Linked DNA regions of Homo sapiens: region 2 is linked to region 1. Evidence: promoter capture Hi-C in 16 types of primary human blood cells and fetal thymus (Javierre and others, 2016). All regions are on one chromosome and are shown on one strand. The core of a region is centred on a gene start or on the middle of the fragment in contact, and the rest is flanking DNA. Distances in the headings are between cores, read along the strand shown.

The links. The method cuts DNA at HindIII sites, captures the fragments that hold promoters and counts their contacts. A CHiCAGO score of 5 or more calls a contact.
Region 2: a contact is called between a fragment that was not itself captured here and the fragment with the promoter of FDFT1 in region 1, in 2 of 17 cell types (monocytes and M2 macrophages). The highest score is 6.7, in monocytes.

What each region holds. Positions count from the first base shown.
Region 1 is chr8:11,801,016-11,804,136 of GRCh38, reverse strand. FDFT1 (farnesyl-diphosphate farnesyltransferase 1) reads right to left here and starts at 1,396. Exons shown (of 8, transcript NM_004462.5): 1 at 1,206-1,396. The coding sequence starts at 1,304. LOC105379243 (a long non-coding RNA gene) reads left to right here and starts at 2,782. Exons shown (of 3, transcript XR_948962.4): 1 at 2,782-2,824. RefSeq lists silencers at 1,018-1,137, 1,348-1,597 and enhancers at 1,668-1,827, 1,865-2,606, 2,607-3,121. The HindIII fragment of the contact is 12,361 bases long and covers 1-3,121 here.
Region 2 is chr8:11,960,968-11,964,137 of GRCh38, reverse strand. No RefSeq gene overlaps it. Among named protein-coding and RNA genes, the nearest start is that of DEFB136, 12 kb to the left of the region's middle. The HindIII fragment of the contact is 1,148 bases long and covers 750-1,897 here.

The DNA of each region.
Region 1 (3,121 bases), core at 147-2,646:
AAGTTTTATAAAATCAAGGTCTTCACCTAGCTTGTTCACTGTTGTACCTCCAGCACCTAGAACACTATCTGATATACAACTGGTCGTCAAATATTTGTTAAATAAATGAATGCTATATCTAAATATAAAAAGTGACATCTGCCATATCAAATAATAGAAGTTATTCTGTAGCAAAATAATTCAAATAATGTAGCACCGGCAAAGAAAAGATGAAGAAAACTGAATGTTCTACAAATAGACTGAAGGATGTACCTGTATTAAAGATAGCACGTGAAAAATAACACCAAATGAGGGTGTAGTCTACTGGGGACAAAAACCAGAAATTTATTTTCTAGTGTGTTTACTGAAGCACATGGACACTGAAAGAAAGACTCCGATGTTCAGGCACCTATCAAGCCTCGGCCTGAGTCACATTTGCTACTGTCCTGTTGGCCCAAAAAAGTTACAGAAATCAGCCAGGCTGGTCCAGACCAGAAGAACTTGGCTGAATTTGTCTATTCATTCAATAATCGCGTACGAATAATTTTCTTGTTGGAATAAAAACACCTCCTATGCATTCATTAAACAAATAGTACAGGCATGAGGCAGATAAAAATCTAAGTAAAACCAAGTTCTGACCTTCCACCAACCACCTAGCTAATCCATAGACGTTAGATAACTCATTGGAACTTGGAAGCGTAGATAGGCGATTTTAAAACTCAGGAAGCACCGAGGATGAAGCGATGGAAGGCAGCAAGGCGGGGAGAGCTCCGGAAGAGGTGGTGAAACTGGAGGAGTCAGACTTCATTCCAGAAACGGCCTTCATGTGATGTTATCTGCATAGTTCATTCCGCTTACCAAAAAACTCACTCGTCCTCTCCCGCGTAACCCACCCACATTGCCTCAGATGTGTAACCCTCGGGTTAAAATACCGGTAAGCGCCGATGCTCACGGAGGGGACGAAACGGGGAGCGCAACCACCGGGAACCACGCAAAAGTCGCTCATGCCCAGGGCGGCTTGCGGGGGCAGGGACAGGTCAGCCAGGACGGCCGCGTCCACCCGGGCCCTACAGGGGGAAGGCTCGAGGAAAGGGGGACGGGAACACCCAGGCGTCGGCCCTGCTCGCCGCGCCCCTTGCCCCAGATCCGGGCCCGGCCGCTCAGGCCCTGAGGCCGGCCCAGCGAGCTCCTTCCCCGCCCCGGGCAAGCAGGGAGGCTCGGCCCACCTGGTCCATCTTGGGCATCACCTTCCGCTTGCCCCCGATCCGGAAGCGCACCAGGTTGTAGAACTCTTCGGGGTGGCCAAGGCATTTCACGAACTCCATCCTGGCGCAGGCGGCGGACTCCCGGGCGCGACTCTCACCTCTGCGGTCCCCAGGCGCTCACCGGCCGGCTGGACCTGTGGAGTAGGTGCTTCGAGGGGCTGGCCGGACAGGGGGCAGGCCTAGTACGGCGACGCCCCGCCCGCCGCTCCGCCCACTTCAACCGGCCTCGGCCGCCAGCGGGGCTAGCTGCGGCCTCGTGGGGTGGGCTGACGGGCGCTGATTGGCCAGGGCCGCTCACACTAGGAAGACCCCGGCCAATCAGTCGCGGAAGGAGACTGGCGTGATAACACTCTAGAAGCTCATTGGAGGCCGAGAAAGAGGCCGACGAGCGGGATTGGTGCCCTGATGGAGCCGGGCCTTTGTTTTCTTCCGCTTACCCCGGCTGGGAGCGCGAACGCTGTGGGGACTGGAGGTGAGGCGGTGGGGCTTAGGATGCGCAGGAGCCCAACGGTGGTCCGCAGTCGGGAGAGCAGTGCGGGGCTGCTTCCTCCCCACTTGGTCAATAAGTCGCCCACGTGTCCGGCCTCGGTGGCTCCTGCCAGCCGGGTGAGCTCTGCAGCCGCTCTCTGTAGAGCCTAAAACCGTGAAAAGGCCGGGCCAGCGCCAAGCTGGGCGTCTTTACTGTAACACACCCGAGCACAGCCCAGCTCGCCTGCCCGCCACCGCCATCCAGCCCCAGGGAGCCCCACACACTCCTGGAGCTTCAGCTGCCCCCTCTCTAGTGTTTACTTGAGATCCAGCTTAGTCCTAGAAAAAGGAGCTGAAGCCTTAGAGAGCCTGTAACAGGAATGTGGAAACTTCTCTCATCCTAGATCTCTCCAGCCCTAGAAACTACTGGCTACCCGTCCAGGCGTGGTGGCTCACGCCTGTAATCGCAACACTTTGGGAGGCCAAGGCGGGTGGATCACGAGGTCAAGAGATCGAGACCATCCTGGCCAACATGGTGAAACCCGTCTCTACTAAAAATACAAAAAAGCCGAGTGTGGTGGTGGGCGCCTGTAGTCCCAACTACTCCGGAGGCTGAGGCAGGAGAATCACTTGAACCCGGGAAGCGGAGTTTGCAGTGAGCCAAGATGACACCGCTGCACTCCAGCCAGGCCAACAGAGCAAGACTACGTCTCCAAAAAAAAAAAAAAACCTACTGGCTACCTAAGCCATCCTGCAGTCTGTTTTAACACAGCAACCAGTAATCCTTTTAAAACCTGTCAGGTCTAGCCGAGCGCGGTGGCTCATGCCTGTAATCCCAGCACTTTGGGAGGCCAAGGCGGGCGGATCACCTGAGGTCTGGAGTTCAAGACCAGCCTGGCCAACATGCTGAAACTGCGTCTCTACTAAAAATACAAAAATTAGCCAGGCATGGTGGCAGGCGCCTATAATCCCAGCTACCTGGGAGGCTGAGGCAGGAGAATCGCTTGAACACAGGAGGCAGAGGTTGCAGTGAGCTGAGATCGCGCTATTGCACTCCAGCCTGGGGGACAAGAGCGAGACTTCATCTCAAAAACAAACAGGAAACCTGTCAGGTACGTTCACTGCCCAAAGCTGTTCAGTGTCTCTCCAACAAAAGCCAAAGCACCTATAGGGATCCTGAGAGGCTGCAGCCTTCCACCCAGATTACCTCTCTGGCCTCCATCTCTTATGCTTTTGCTTTCTCTGGCCCTAGGACTTTTTGTCTAGCTGTTCACTATTCCTGCACTATCCCCCAGATACTGGCTTGACTAACTCCTGTGCCCCTCGAGTCTGCTCACACCTCATCTAGACCCACCTGTTTGCCCTCTCTCACATTTCCACCACTGCTAATCCCAGTGGGGGTCTACTTG
Region 2 (3,170 bases), core at 74-2,573, 160 kb before region 1:
CACCCACCTGCAGAGTCAATCTCAATTCTCTAAGAGCTGCTGGAACCAGGAGGAGGGGCTGCCCAGTGTTCCCGGGTGGAACAGCCCTGAGGACATTTCTATGGGAATTTCCCGGGTACCCTGGAGGGAGACGATACCCTTTCCCACTGAGAGAAGAGGTTTGGGAAGGAAATGAGGGGGATGGGAAAGGTTCCAAAATGGAATCATCTGTGAGATCTCAAGGGAACAGGCTCAGATGTAAATTTCATCATCAGCTGATCATCTAGAGCCTGCCTGGAGTCAGCGGCAAGGCTGTTTCTCCAGATGCTGGGAGAGGGGGTGCTGATATTGAACATCTGCATCCCTGCTGTGAGTGGCCCCAACAGAGAGCCCCCAAGGGCCTTGGCCATCACTGCCCCCTGCATCCGGAGCCCTCCCCAGGACCCATGAGCCCCCAGCTGAGTGTCCAGGGAGCCGAGGAACTGCACCTGAAGGCCTCTCCCAACAGCACTCTTGAGCGAGGCCCTCACCCACAGAGCACGGCAGGATTCATGAGCTGCTTTCACATAACGTGGACAGAGTTCATTATTCCATTTTCTTTTAGAGAAGGAAACCGCAGCTCAGACAGTAAAATGATCTATACAAAGCCATATAGCTAGTGAGTAGGGGAGCTGGGAGTCCAGGCAGCTGTCCTGACTCGCAGTCTAGCGCTCTTTCCATTCGAATGCAGTGAAAAAAGAAGAACCAGGTTGATTATTTTGGCCTAAGCTTTATCATCTATTAAAAGCTAATCCCAACCCCATCTCCCCAAACTCTTGCTGCCCGGAATGTGTCCAGAAAGTACTCATGGGCTCAAAGATCGAACTTCCAGGGAAGAGAGATGGACATTGCAATTTCTGCCGAGAACCTCAGGACACATATTCCACATCCAACCCTGGGGACCTCCCAAGACAAGTGAGCTCGCTCCTCTTCTCAGCCCTCACTCTGCTCCGATCTCCAGGCTAAAGCACCCAGCTGCGTTGATTCCCAGGACACTACTCAGAGCTGTGTCTGAGCGGCCCCCACTCCTGCTGCACTCCCATTTGTTTCAAGCAGGATATTTCACATCTGGTCCTGCCCGAAGACAGAGAAAGAATGGGATGCTCTTGTCTCTAATCTCAGATTCCAAAATTCCATGAATACAGCTTGAGACCAAACTCATTTTGTGGGAGTTCACACCACTGACTACTCATATGAATTTTCCATCTACAAAAGCCAGTCATGCTTTGTCTCAAAGATGGTAATTAACCTTTACCTTCCCAAAATGGATGCTTATGGTACTGATTTTGGTTTTACCTGAGGGTGCAACCTTCCATTTATCCCAGTTTGACTTCATTTTATTAGACTTGGCCTCTCATGCCAACCTGTTGAGATCGTCTAGGTTTCAGATTCTGCCACCCTCTGGCGTGGCAAGAAACTCATTGTAGGGATGGGAGAGATGGACAGCACCTCTCCCAGGATTTTTTTCTTTAAGAGACAGAGTCTTGTTCTGTCACCCAGGCTGGAGTGCAGTGGCACCATCATGGCTCACTGCAGCCTCAATCCTCTGGGCTCAAGCAATCCTCCCATCTCAGCCTCCTGAGTAGCTAGGACTACAGGTGTGCACGACCATGCCTGGTTAAATTTTAATTTTTTATAGAGATGGGGGGAGGGTCTCACTATGTTGCCCAAGAAGGTCTCAAACTCCTGGCCTCAAGTGATCCTTCTGCCTCAGCCTCATGAAATGCTGCGTTTGGATTACTATTATTTTGGTAGAGAGGTGCAACCAGCTAGGCTTAGGGAACGCCTGTACCCCGCGACTTCATCCTGGGATCCCTGTCTTGAGTTGTGTAAGTTTGGGGCAACAATGAGTAAACTATGAGGTGGGGGAGGTCAAGCTTTATAGGCTTCTGCCCTTGTCTACTGCTGGTTACTTCCTCCTTCACCGGAGCACCTGCCACCCCACTCTCAGCAACGTTCATCTCGAAGAGGCTGAGACAAGCTGAATCCACAAAGGGAATCTCAATTGTAAGGATCAACAAACTTTTTCTGTGAAGGCCAGAGAGTAAATATTGTAGGCTTTGCAGGGCATGCAGTCCACATCACAACTACTCAACTCTGTGATGGAGTCAAAGTAGCTGTAGACAATATATGTGTGAAGCCGTGTTTCAATAAAACTTTATTTATACAAACAGACAGTTGTCAGATTTAGCCCACAGGGTGCAATTTGCCAACTCCTACTCCACTGGGATATTTCAGCTGCTGTGGCCTACCACAGAGCGCCACACAGAGAAGCTTGCACCAAGACTCTGCCCTCAAGCAGCTTCTAATCTACACGTTTGTGAAAGATGAGTAAGTATAGGAAGGGGGAACATGTAATAATATTCTTTCATATCATCACAGCTTTTCCATTCACTCCTAGAGGGTTTACCCTGCACTCGCTGTGTGCCAGGCACTGTGCTCGGCCCGTGGGAAGGTAGAGATGAAGTCCCCACACTGCCCCAGGGAGTGCCCCATTCCCTCTGGAGCTGTGTGAACAAGGCTCTGGCCTTCTCTCCAGGAATACCAAAGGGAGCACAGAGACCAGAGGGCAAAGGAGGAACGGCAAAAATGGAGTGCCTAAATCACCTGCACACCTTCCGTCCTCAGCCCTCCGGTGTGACTTTGGATGACTTATGAGCTCTAAATCTCAGCTCCTCCTCCTATTTGAGGAAACAATGCTTATCCCCAAGGATTGTTATGAAGCTTAAATGACACATGTGCAAAGCACAGGGCCTGAAACAAACTAGATGCTTACTAATTGATACTTTTGTTTCTTTATCTATGAAAGGATAAAAAAATACTTCCCAATGGGGCTGTGCAAGATGGATCACACCTGTAATCCCAGCATTTGGGAGGCCAGGGTGGGAGGACCACTTGAACCTAGGAGTTCAAGACCAGCCTAGGCAACATAGCAAGACCCTGTCTCAAAAAAAATTTTTTTAATTTAAAAATAATTTAAAAATTTTTCAAAAAGCTTTCTGATGAACACTACTGCTGACCATTCCATGCAATTCTGAGTAGTGTTATTCCCTCTAGAGCATCCCAAAATGCCAAAATTCATTCATTTATTCATTCATTCAGGTATTCTTCTTACAAACATATAATTCTCGCCTACTATGTAAGTAGACACC